Regions from separate parts of the Homo sapiens genome. Here region 1 is linked to region 2. The links are contacts of gene promoters, found by promoter capture Hi-C in blood cells and fetal thymus (Javierre and others, 2016). All regions are on one chromosome and are shown on one strand. Each heading gives the region's core, a stretch centred on a gene start or on the middle of the fragment in contact. The rest is flanking DNA. Distances are from core to core; before and after follow the strand shown.

Evidence for each region. The method cuts DNA at HindIII sites, captures the fragments that hold promoters and counts their contacts. A CHiCAGO score of 5 or more calls a contact.
Region 1: the fragment with the promoter of SPEM1 here is called in contact with a fragment that was not itself captured in region 2 in 11 of 17 cell types (naive CD4 T cells, total CD8 T cells, naive CD8 T cells and 8 more); the score reaches 9.7 in naive CD4 T cells.

What each region holds. Positions count from the first base shown.
Region 1 is chr17:7,418,767-7,425,413 of GRCh38, reverse strand. It overlaps SPEM1 (spermatid maturation 1), which reads right to left and starts at 5,090. Exons shown (of 3, transcript NM_199339.3): 1 at 4,886-5,090; 2 at 4,727-4,787; 3 at 3,782-4,533. The coding sequence starts at 5,029. The coding sequence ends at 3,809. It overlaps NLGN2 (neuroligin 2), which reads right to left. Exons shown (of 7, transcript NM_020795.4): 7 at 5,554-6,647. RefSeq lists an enhancer at 5,087-5,606. The HindIII fragment of the contact is 12,172 bases long and covers 1-6,647 here.
Region 2 is chr17:7,487,831-7,494,453 of GRCh38, reverse strand. The region is part of intron 1 of POLR2A (RNA polymerase II subunit A); the gene reads right to left. Among named protein-coding and RNA genes, the nearest start is that of POLR2A, 6.8 kb to the right of the region's middle. The HindIII fragment of the contact is 6,358 bases long and covers 212-6,569 here.

The sequences.
Region 1 (6,647 bases), core at 3,841-6,340, 71 kb after region 2:
GGTTTGCTTAACCCCACAGCTGGTTCCTGAGCTGAAGATAGGGTAGTTAGAGGCTGACACGGTCGTCACAGGGTTGAAGCATGCATCAGATATGTCCTGTTTCATTGTTCTTTTGAGACATTATGGCAACTTACATAGCCTGTTGGCGTGCCTTGCCCCATGGTTACTTTGGGGCCAGCATCTAGGGTGACTAGATGGGCGGGTGACACTGCGTCCCCTCAGGCATCACCCTGCTGTACCAGCCCCTCCCTACTCTGCCCATTTCCCTGTCAAAAGTCCTCTAGCTCCCATCTCTGCCCAATTCTTCCTGGCCAGACTCCAGCCCTAGGTGTTGGTGGTCCTTGAGCCCACCAGCCACTTCGTCACACTGACATCTGACTCACTGAGGTGGCTGCCTCTGCTGGGAACCAACCCCAGCCATGGTTTCTCCAACCTAACCACCTACACTCCCACCAACCCACCCTTACTCCAAGGTGAAAAACGGTTAAGCTACTACCTGAAGAAAACCCGAGCTGGGCGCGGTGGCTCATGCCTATAATCCCAGCACTTTGGGAGGCTGAGGTGGCTGGATCACCTGAGGTCAGGAGTTCCAACCTGGCCAACATAGTGAAACCCCGTCTGTATTAAAAATACAAAAATTAGCTGGGTGTGGTGATGCGCGCCTGTAGTCCCAGCTACTCGGGAGGCTGAGGCAGAAGAATCATTTGAACCCAGGAGGTGGAGGTTGCAGCAAGCTGAGCTCTCGCCATTGTACTCCAGCTTGGGTGACACATCGAGAATCTGTCTCCAAAAAAACAAGAAAGGAAGGAAGGAAGGAAGGAAGGAAGGAAGGAAGGAAGGAAGGAAGGAAGGAAGGAAGGAAGGAAACTTGCTGGGCGCAGTGGCTCACGCCTATAATCCCAGGCAGGTGGACCACCTGAGGTCAGGAGTTTGAGACCAGCCTGGCCAACATGGCGAAACCTCTACTAAAAACACAAAAATTAGCTGGGCATGTTGGTGGGCGCCTGTAATCCCAGCTACTTGGGAGGCTGAGGCAGGAGAATTGCTTGAACCTGAGAGGTGGAGGTTGCAGCGAGCCAAGATCGCGCCACAGAAGTCCGGCCTGGGTGACAGAGTGAGACTGTCTCAAAACAAACAAACAACCCAACAACAACAACAACAACAACAAGAAAACCACATGAAATTAACAAAGCACAAAATACATGTAATTGTTAATATACCAAAAAGAGTGTTTGACTTAAAACAGGTGCATCACTGGGGTCTGTGGTGCCCTGGAGACTGCAAGCCATTTGTTTACACAGTGAACCACTCAGCAGAAAGAAAGGCCAGTGATCATATCCCATCCAGCCTCCAAACACAGAGTAGATGCAGAGTAGATTCAGATTCCACTGAATGGAATCCATTGAAAATGATCAGTAACGTTAGTTGAATGAGAGAAGTAGGGCCATTTGTAAACGGTCCGTCTGCTCACATTCCAGGAATCTGTCTAGAGTGGAAGGTGAAGTCCAGCTCCCTCAGCCTGGGCTCACGCACACAGCTGCTTGTTCTCAAGTGGTATGTGTGTGCATGTGCATATGATCCCAATTGTGTAGCAGAAAGGCAGGGCCTGAGTTTCTCTGTTTCTCAGTTTCTGAGTTCACATGGTGAACTGGGGAAGGTGGGAGGTTCTGGTGGGTCAGGCTGGCTCTGCAGCAATGGGATGGAGCATCTGAGGCCATGAGCTTGATCCTCAGTGTCTGTGTAACCATGAGCAAGACCCTTAGCTTCTCTGAACTTAGTCTCCTCACTGGTGACATGGTGAGTTAATCAAAGGAGTGAGGTCACAGAGAGCTGTGATGTTACAGTGAGGTACCTCTTGAGGGGGGCCCCAATATTTCTCTTCTTTTTTTTTTTTTTTGAGATGGAGTCTCGCTCTGTTGCCCAGGCTGGAGTGTAGTGGTGCAATCTCGGCTCACTGCAAGCTCCGCCTCCTGGGTTCACACCATTCTCCTGCCTCAGCCTCCCAAGTAGCTGGGACTATAGGCGCCCACCACCACGCCCGGCTAATTTTTTGTTTTCATATTTTTAGTAGAGATGGGGTTTCACCATGTTAGCCAGGATGGTCTCAATCTCCTGACCTTGTGATCTGCCCGCCTCGGCCTCCCAAAATGCTGGGATTACAGATGTGAGCCACCACGCCCGGCCTTTTTTTTTTTTTTTGATGGAGTCTCGCTCTGTCGCCCAGGCTGGGGTGCAGGGGCGCCATCTTGGCTAACTGCAACCTCTGCCTCCCACGTTCACACCATTCTCCTGCCTCAGCCTCCCAAGTAGCTGGGACTACAGGCGCCCACCATCATGCCCAGCTAATTTTTTTATTTTTTATTTTTCATTTTTTAGTAGAGACGGGGTGTCACTGTGTTAGCCAAGAGGTCTCGACCTCCTGACCTCGTGATCCGCCCGCCTCGGCTTCCCAAAGTGCTGGGATTACAGGCGTTAGCCACTGCGCCCAGCCAAGGGGGCCCCAATATTTCCTCCTCTGCTCCAATCCTGCTTAAGGGTATAGGACCTTCAGGGTGACTGGGGAACTGTGAAGGACTAGACGCCCTCTCAGCCATCCCTCCCCAAATAAATCAGGGCTTACGTGGGAACCAGGCCTCACCGGTGGCTGCAGCCTAACGCTGGGCTCTGGCAGGCACCAGCCTTCTGAGGAGCTAGGGCCATGGAGATGGAGATCTCTCCTCTAGTGCACGACTGCCTGGGGACCTGGGGTAGAATTTAGGGGCTTCTCTGTGCACTAAAGAAAACAAGGAATTAACTGGGCGTGGTGGTGCCTGTTGTCCCAGCTACTCAGGAGGCTGAGGCAGGAAGACTGCTTGAGCTCAGGAGGTTGAGTCTCCAGTGAGCCATGATTGCACCACTGCCCTCCAGCCTGAGTGACAGATCAAGACCCTGCCTCAGGGGAGGGGGAGGAAACAGTCCGGGCACAGTGGCTCACACCTGTAATCCCAGAACTTTCAGAGGTTGAGGCAGGCAGATCGATTGAGCCCAGGAGTTTGAGACCAGCCTAGGCAAAGTAGTGAAACCCAATCTCTACAAAAAATAGTGGTGCGGCTGGGGTGGGGTGGCTCACACCTGTTATCCCAGCACTTTGGGAGGCTGAGGCGGGCGGATCACCTGAGGTCAGGAGTTCAAGACCAGCCTGGCCGACATGGCAAAACCCCATCTGCACTAAAAATACAAAAATTAGCAGGGCATGGTGGCACACGCCTGTAGTCCCAGCTACTCAGGAGGCTGAAGGCAGGAGAATTGGTTGAACCTGGGAGGCAGAGGTTGCAGTGAGCCAAGATTGTGCCATTGCAGTCCAGTGTGGGTGACAAGAATAGGACTCTGTCTTAAAAACAAAAACAACCCCCCCCACACAAAAACCAACCAACCGAACAAACAACAACAACAACAACAAACTAGTGGCCCATGCCTGTAGTCCTAGTGACTCAGGAGGCTGAGGTGGGAGACAGTTGGGACTGCAGTGAACTGTGATTGCACCACTGCACTCCAGCCCGGGCAACAGAGAAGACCCTGTCTCAAAAAAAAAAAAAAATTGAAAACAAGGTAGAGGCAGGTAAGAGCCTTGGAACCCAGAAGGGCCTAGGAAAGGCTGAGGACAGGGACAGGCCTGTGGGGCAAAAGGTTAATGAGGGTCCTCAGGGCTCAGGGCCCTGTGGCTAGGGAGAGCATTCTCTTCACAGCCACAGCTTCTAGGTGCTGTGTGGGCCCTGGCACCCCAGCACCACCACAGATCACCTCCTCTCTCCTTTTTATTTTTTTCCAGTCACCTCCCAGTTAGGGAACGGTACACCCAATTCTTGCTTGTCTCCTCGGCAGTGCTGGATCCAGAGGCTAGGGGGTAGCAGCCGGACAGGGCCTCCACCTCCCGGGTCAGTTCCCGAAGCCGCCGTCTCATGTCCCGGGCATCATACACTATTCGGCCTGAGGAGCGGTGCCGGGAAAATTCAGGGATGACTGCTGGGCCCAGGGTGGGAGCTGGGACAGGCTGGTACTGAGCCGCCTCTGCCTCTGGCACCGCCCCCTCCCCACCGTTCTTGTGGCTAGGAGCCTCAGGGCTGGGAGGTGGGGGGTTCACAGGATACACATAGGCCCTTAGGCCCAGCTCGGACCATATGCCTGTTTTGAGGGGCCTTTCCTCTACGGTAGGCTGGAAGCGGATGGTCTGGGGAGGGGACTCTGGGGCATCCTGAGACCAGGGAACCCAGGTCCCCTGAGTGTGTTGGAAGCCTTCCCAGTCCTCAGGGACATCCCAGTGGTAGGAGCAGATGGCTGGGTACTGATGAGGCTTCTCGTCATCAGTGTCAGGAGCCCAAGCTACTGGGCAGTGAGCACAGCGTGTGGGAGAGCCTCGACGGCGATGGCGGTGAGCTGGGGGCGGGGACACAGTCATCATCACAGGGTCCATGGTGCACCGAAGATGGACTGCAGGAGAACTCTGCTTCTTAGGGGGCTGGGTCTGCTTTCTGAGTAATGATGACTTGGGAGCTTCTGTGGATGGGGGAGAGGTGAGACTAGTGGGGAGGCCAGCTCCTACAGGCATGGAGAGGCAGGGCCCAGGAAGGGCAGCCACACAGCTATGTTGTCTGAGAGGGGCGAGCAAGAAGGGAAGGGGCTAATTTAGGGCTGAGGCTAGAGCACTTGGTTTCTGCCCCTCCTATGTCCCAGCCCCCAGACCTCTTACCTTTCTCACAAATGGTATCATGGAACACTTGGTATAAGACACCACGGAATCGGCTCCAGAGCTAGGTGGGGGAAGACACAGTGATCCCAGGTAGGCCCTGGCCGGCAGGCCTGCCCCCCACTATCCCACCAGCTCCCTCCCATCTGGCCCCACCCTGACCAGGGTCACTATATTGATGCTAATGTTAATGCAGATGATGAGGCCCAGCAGCAACAGGACAGAGTTGCCCAGGTCCTGGCAGCTGTTGCTGTTGCAGTTGTGATACGAGGCCCACTCGGGCCTCGGCCGCTCAACCATGGCCATGGGGTCCCTAGGACCACCGGGGCCCTTACGCCCCCAGCCCACCGTGCCGACAGTGTCCACTGACTGCCTGCCTGTCCCTGAGGGTCTTGGGAGTGAACGGGTCACAATGGTGCCAGGCCACTCCCTTCCAGTGTGCCAAGGGGCTACCCTGAGTCCTGGACCCGTGGCTGACCCTCTCGCCTGAGTCCAGGCCTTGGCAGAGGCCATGCCTCTCACCTCACATACCTCTGCTGAGCTAGCTGCCTACACCAGCCCACTGGGCCTCTGGCCTGTTTGACATCTGCCCCCATCAGCCTTTGTCCTTCCATTATAGAACGACACCAGGCTCCAGTCTCGGCATAGACACGGGTCCTGACATTCATTTGCCAAACAGACCCATTACCATGGCAACCAGACCCCAGCACACACTCCCCCTTCCTCTCAGACCTCAGAGCTGGTCACTGAAAAGACCCCTCCTCCCTCGTCACTTCCCCAGGGCTTGTTTCTTTAGAGACCGCCCTCCCCACAACAGAGCAGGCACAACCAACAGTTAAACTTTTATATTTACAATATTCTCTTCATCTTTTGCCAGGTTTAAAAATGTGTACAGAGCCGCAAAGGGTTGGGGTAGGGATAAGGGATTGTCGGGATTGTTTTGGGGAGAGGAGCTGGGCATTGGAGTCCGTGGCTGAATCATGGGGTCCCCCAGCCCCCCTCCCATGCCCCAATTCTGAGGGCATCTGTCTACAGGGTTCAGGGCCCAGGTCTCTAGCATTTGGAGGGCATGGCTGTTTGGAGAGGAGCTAGACCAGGCAGGGGAAAGGATCAGAAAATAACTAATTTTCCATGGATGGAGGTAGGAAGAGAAGGGACAGTCAAGAGGCAAAGTTCTGGGGACTCAAGACCAGGGATTCTGGATTTGGGTGTCAGTGGAAGACAGCACCCCAGCCCCTATTCAAGTTTGGCACTAACACCCCACAAAATGCCAGCAGATGAGGACTCTCCCCTCGTCCACTGTGTCCCTTAAGCCCTTCCAGACATCATTCTTTTCCCAAATGCCCAAGCCCAAGGCCCTCCGGGGAGTCACCTCACACATTTCAAATTATTCCTGCTGGTGTCTGCCCAAGCCCTGTCCCCACTGCCCCCTCCATCTGTTCCCCAGCACCGCTGACCTCATTCTCCCAACCTGTCCGGTGAGACCTTTCTCCCCACTGCCTCCCTCCACCATTCAAGGCTCCTTTCTTTCAGACAAGGAGGGGGCGTGGGTCAGAGGAGGGTGGTCAGCTGAGGAGAAGGCTGGTCTGACACTGAGATGGGGACAGCTTCAAAGAGGGGGACGGAGATGAAGGGGAACGGAGAACTGAGGCAGGGTGGGGGAGACATGGTGAGGAGAAGGGGCACAGGCGGGAGCCCCCTCACCTGCCACATCCCTCGCCCTGTATCCTGCTTGCCCTTAGTTTCCCCTGCCCTGCCTGGGACTGGGAAATTCTTGGCACATTTTGGGAGTCTTTCCGCTCAAATCCACCTACCCAGTTTGGCACGGATGAGCAATGCTCTGAGGCCTGGGGAAAAGGCTGTCCTCGGACCACAATGAGGGCTTTGGTCAAACATGCGTGGCCTCTGCGGGGGGCACGTTGCC
Region 2 (6,623 bases), core at 2,141-4,640:
TGACTTGCTTTATTGCGGTGGGCTGGAACCAAACTCACAGTATCTCCAAGGTATGCTTGGATACTCATTCTCAACTCTCTAATTCCAGGCCTTACTTTTCTTCTGGACTTTGGGTTCACGTATGTGACTACCTACTGAACCCCCTGCAAACATCACACCAAAAAATCAAATTAAACATGTTTAAAAGCAAACTCTCTTTTCCACAAAAGCTTCTCTTTTTCCTTTAGTCTCTATCCCAGATTCAGAAACCTATGCTTACCTTTCCTTACCTTCAAGCACAAAACAGTCCAAAGAACATGGACTTAGCTGTCGGGCACCCTTGCTTTGGAATTCTGCCTATATTACTTATGAACTATGTAACCATTAAGGACTTAATTAGCTTGCTTAAGTCCAGGATGTAATTGGCGCTTTATGAATGGACATTATTATTATTCAGTCATTCACCAGGTACTGGTCACTTTTACCTCCCTTTTTTTTTTAAGAAGTCTTGCTCTGTCACCCAGGCTGGAGTGCAGTGGCGGGAATCTCAGCTGGGTTTACACACATAAGCCACCACGCCTGGCCTCCTAAGTGTTTCTTGAATCTTGCCTCTCTTCTCCATCCCCACCACCATTGCCCTAGTTCAGGCCCTTCCTTTGTAGTCTACAACAGAGCGTTCCTATGGGTCACCAGCCTGTCTCTCTCCAATCCTTCTACATTACAACTGGGGTGCTCATTCTAAAATAAAAATGTGTGCTAAAAATAAATAAAATAAAAATTAATAATAAACTAAAAATGTAATCATTCATACCCTCTTGTCCTCAGACTGACATCCAAACTCAGCAGGACAGCTTCCCAAAAGGATTTTATGATGTTCTCAACCTTCATTTCCCTGATGCTCCACACCTTCCTGTTCACTCCTCAGTAACAATTCCCTGGAGTCGCCTATCACATCCAGCGCAACACGTGCTGCGTTCCTCCGGGGTTTTCTATATGCTAGTGCCTCTCTGCTTGGAATGCTCTTCCCACTGCAAAACTCCTATTTCAAGACTCGGCTCAGGCACTGCTTCCTCCAGGAAGCCTTTCCACAGCCTGCCCAAAGTAGACAGGCACCCCTCCTCTGTGCTTCCACAGCCCTCTATCACTGCACATACAACAATGCAATAAAATGACCTATGGGGGTCTGTCTTCCCTATAACTATAAGCACCTCTCAGGCAGGCAGAATGCCTCAACCATCCTGAATCCCATGTGCCTGCCTGAAACATGGTGGGCTCCTAACAAATGTCTGTTAAATTGACCTACTGCTTAGGACTCTCCACTGGAGGGAGGTACCCTCAAAAAACTTGGAAAAAGAGAGGTTACCCTCTGACAGTCAAACCAGTAATCCCCTCATAATAGGTCTGATTGGCCACTGCTGGGTAGAAACCAAAATGGTCTACAGATGCAAAGCTGAAGAAGTTCTGCACACCTCTCAGCCTCAGACAGGTTCAAAACTCTCATCAACATGACCTGATGAAATCTCAGGAAGACAGTCCTCATGGATGACTACATTTGCAAAGCTGGAACCTCATCAGCTGCATTGTCTGGTGAGAAACATGAAGGGGATTTGCTCACCTTGAATGAGACCAAAAAAAGCGGAAGCAGTTACGTATCTGGCCTCCACAACAGACACTGCAGAGGGGCCTAAGAGAAATCAGGCTCAACATTTTCAACCTCTTTCTGCTCAAAGTCTATGCCGACCAAGCCAACCACCCTTCTAATGACTAATTCTGCTTTCAGGCTTTCTGAGACCGGGTCAGGGGGTGTCCTAGACAGCAGACACGCATATCCTTGTTAATGAGAAGAGCTATCCCTCCATCACCAAGTTCACGAACTCTCATTTTTTATTTTATTTTACTTTTTTTTTTTGAGACAGGGTCTTGCTGTCACCCCGGCTGGAGTGCAGTGGTACAATCTCGGCTCACTGCCACCTCTGCCTCTCAGGTTCAAGTGATTCTTGTGCCTCAGCCTCCCAAGTAGCTGGAATTACAGGTGCTCACCACACTTGGCTAATTTTTGTATTTTTAGTAGAGACAGGGTTTCACCATGTTGGCCAGGATGGTCTCAAACTCCTGGCCTCAAGTGATCCACTCACCTTAGCCTCCCAAAGTGTTGGGATTACAGTCGTGAGCCACCGCACCAGGCCTCAAACTGTCATTTTAAATTAGCCCCCAACCCTTCGGCCAACAATGGTTCTCACTGCCTACAGGATAAAGGTTAAACACTTGAGGGGGTGGCCAGTCAGGCTGGGTTCTCTTTGGGTTCTGCCCCTGAGGCCACAATAACAAAAGGGCTGTCATTGAATCTCAGTAAATACTCGTCCTCTTTCCTCTGCTTTAGCAAAGCTAACAAGGTCCTTATTACAATTTGGCTTCAAGTTGCTTTTACAGCTTTATTTGGTACCACATTCTCCTACCCGCCTCCCACATTTATGTTCTAAATACAATAGATTTCTCAAATCTCCTTTTGCTTCACACACCCCCTTGGGAGTAAACTTCTATTTATTCTTTAAGACCCAGTTCAGAGGTCACCTCCTTATGAAGTCTTCTCTAACTCTTCCTAGTCTTATGCACACCCCAGCAAGGTTCTCAGCCCAATTTTAATTACTTGGTGACACATCTGTCTCTCTCATTGGACTGTAATCCTTGAGGGCAAGGGTCATGTTTTCTCTTCATATCCTCAGCACCTAGCACAGTAACCAACATATGGTTGAGGCTCAGTAACTATTTGCTGCATACATAGGAAATCCCTCACAAGATTATAGGTAACTTGAAAACAAGGATCATCTTCTCACTCATCAATGTAGCCCACACTCTACCTAAAAGAATACATTATTGACCAGGCGCAGTGGCTCAAGCCTGTAATCCCAGCACTTTGGGACGCCAATGCAGGCAGATCACCTGAGGTCAGGAGTTCGAGACCAGCCTGGCCAACATGGTAAAACCCTGTCTCTAATAAAAATACAAAAACTAGGCCAGGTGCGGTGGCTCATGCCTGTAATCCCAGCACTTTGCGAGGCCAAGGTGGGTGGATCACAAGGTCAGGAGTTCGAGACCAGTCTGGACAACACAGTAAAATCCCGTCTCTACTAAAAATACAAAAAAGAAATTAGCTGGGTGTGGTGGCGTGCTCCTGTAGTTCCTGCTACTCGGGAGGCTGAGGCAGAAGAATCGCTTGAATCCAGGAGGCAGAGGTTGCAGTGAGCACAGACTGTGCCACTATACTCCAGCCTGGGCAACAGAGCTGGAGTCCGTATCAAAAAAAAAAAGAACAGATTACTGCTTTAAATCCTTATTTAAATAAGTCAGGGTATAAATAAGTTATGCATTCCATGATAGACAGTTGTTTTTAATGAATAGGGGTCAACTACTGCGAAGGAAATCCAGCACCCTCTTTCCCCAAAATTTTGTGCACACGCTGGTACAAAGCTCTAGTACCAACCCGCCTTGTAACCTTCCCCTCACCTAGCAACATCTAAATCCATCTTCTAACAGCAAGGACAACAGCTCTATCTCAAAGCCAATTCAAAGACCCCTCCGTACCTCCATACACTCTGACCCCTAAGACTTCTGTAAAACATTTTAGCCTAAAATACCACCTGTTTCACAACAAGAGGCACCTTACTCACCCTCACCCATCCTTCTACCCAAAATTGAACCGTCTGTTGGTCCCTCAAAATACAGACATCGTATAAACTGCAAGACATGCAGAGCACTATCGAAGCCCAACAATCCTACACCCCAGAGATGACTCTGGTAGAGCTTTGTCAACAGTGTCCCATACTTTTATTTGTTATTATTCCATCTTGGGTCAGTACAACCTCCGCCTACCAGGTTCAAGTGGTTCATATGCCTCAGCCTCCCAAGTAGCTGGGATTACAGGCACCCACGACTACACCCAGCTGCTTTTTATATTTTTAGTACAGACGGGGTTTCACTAGGCTGGACAGGATGGTCTTGAACTCTTGACCCTCGGGGATTTGCCCACCTTGGCCTCCCGAAGTGCTGGGATTACAGGAGTGAGCCACCGTGCTCAGCCCATTTGTTATTATTATTTTTAAATTGAGATAGGGTCTTGCTGTGTTGCCCAGGCTGGTCCTGAACTCCTGGCCTCAAATGATCCTCCTGCCTCAGGCTCCGAAAGTGCTGGGATTACAGGCATGAGCCACGGCATGCATTTTTTTTCATGCTTTAAAAAAACCGTAAATACGTTCCCACTTTAACATAAGGCCTTCACTCTGCATACTTCTGAGTAACTTTTTCATTTATCCATAGATTCCCTAACATTATCAACAGCCCACAGTGCCCTTACCATTTCAGTAACTCTCACAGCACTTACTAGGTCAAAAGAGAGCCACAGCCGAGCGCGGTGGCTCACACCTGCAATCCCAGCACTTGGGGAGGCCAAGGTGGGCAGATCACTTGAGGTCAGAAGTTTGAGACCGGTCTGGCCAATGTGGTGAAACCCTGTCTCTACCAAAAATACAAAAATTGCCGGGCATGGTGGCGGATGCCTGTGATCCCAGCTGCTTGAGAGGCTGAGGGAGGAGAGTAGCTTGAACCCAGGAGGCAGAGGTTACAGTGAGCTGAGATCTCACCTCTGCATTCCAGCCTAGGCAACAGAGCAAGACTCCATCTTTCCAAGAAAAGACAGCAATTTATTAAGCACCTAGACCCAAACAACTTAAGCATTTATGTCCTAGGAACTTACTAGCCATTTGAGAAAATACACACAAGTTGAAAATACTATTAATATATTAAAACAAAATAACATTTTTATTTCTTTACCAAATAACCATCTCACTCACTTATGGCGCCTGTTAGGCACTGCACCTCTCAAACCTTGGAATCAGACTAAACAGCACCACCTTTATTTCTTCTACAAACTGATTTTTGCCTGTACTTAGCAACTGCTAAAAACCCAGTTTCACAAAAATATGACATTATAGAAAGGGATTTGGCACCATCTAATGTTGAAACAGAACTACCAGGAACTAGGAGTTCCAGGGTATCTGACAAATGTACCTGTGTTTCTCTTGGAAATTTAAAATACCTCACTGTGCCCACCGTGTGCCACAGTGTCTCAGGGCATCAGCACAGTGTGGGACCTTATTGGGAAGTTCCTCTATTACATTGTAAGAATACACCCTAAGTTATTCAACAGGATTCCTATTAGTAAATACCGAGTAATTTATAATTGTCACTTTCAAACAATGTTGCAATAAAAGTCCTTCTACATTATCTATGCATATTTGCCCAATTATTTCATTCACTTGTTTATTCAACTAATTTTTATTACATGTCTATCATGTGCCAGGCACTACCTGAGATACTAAGGGAACATGAATAACACAGACAAAGTCCCTCATGAAATTCATTCTCTAGCAAGGAAGCAAGAAACAGAAAAACTAATCCTTTCTGGAGTGACAGGCTGTGAAGGAAAATATAGCAGAGAATGATCAGAGAAAACAAGGGAAGGGCGGGGGATGCTATTTAAACAGAGTGGTCAGGGAAGCGCTCCTAAAGATATGACATCGGCCAGGCGCAGTGGCTCATGCCTGGAATCCCAGCACTTTGGGAGGCAGAGGAGGGGGATCGCTTGAGCCCAGTTCACCAGCCTAGGTAACATAGTGAGAACCCATCTCTACAACAAATTTAAAAATTAGGCATGGTGGTATGAGCCTGTTGTCCCAGCTACTGAGGTGGGGGTTGGGGGTCTGTCTGAGGTGGGAGCATTTTTTTTTTTTTTTTGAGACGGAGTCTCGCTCTGTTGCCCAGGCTGGAATGCAGGAGCGCAATCTCGGCTCACTGCAAGCTCCACCTCCCGGGTTCACGCCATTCTCCGGCCTCAGCCTCCCAGGTAGCTGGGACTACAGGCACCTGCCACCACGCCCTGCTAATTTTTTGTATTTTTAGGGGAGACGGGGTTTCACCGTGTTAGCCAGGACGGTCTCGATCTCCTGACCTCGTGATCCGCCCGCCTCAGCCTCCCAAAGTGCTGGGACTACAGGTGTGAGCCACCGCGCCTGGCCTTTTTTTTTTTTTTTTTGAGACAGTCTCACTCCGTCACGCAGGCTGGAGTGCAATGGCACAGTATCAGCTCAATGCAACCTCGACCTCCCAGGTTAAACTGATTCTCCTACCTCAGCTTCCCTAGTAGCTGGGACTACAGAGGCGTGCCACCACACCTAGCTAATTTTTGTATTTTTAGTAAAGACAGAGTTTCACTATTTTGGCCAGGCTGGTCTCAAACTCCTGACCTCGTTATCTGCCCACCTTGGCCTCCCAAAGTGCTGGGATTACAGACGTGATTGAGCCTGGCCAGGGAGCATCTTTTGAGCCCAAGAGGCTGCAGTGAGCTGGGATCGAGCCACTGCACTCCAGCCTGGGGGACAGAGGGATACCCCGTGTCCAAAAAAAAAAAAAGATATGCCATTTCAACACAGAACATACAGACATAAAGGAACAGGCATGCAGAGCAGAGGTCTGAGCAACGTTGTTCCAAGCAGGAGGAATAGTGAATAATAAAGTCCTTGAGGTGGGAATAAGCTTGCAGTGTTAGAGGAGCAAGCAGTCAGCGTGGTTCAAGAAAAGCAAAGAGGAGA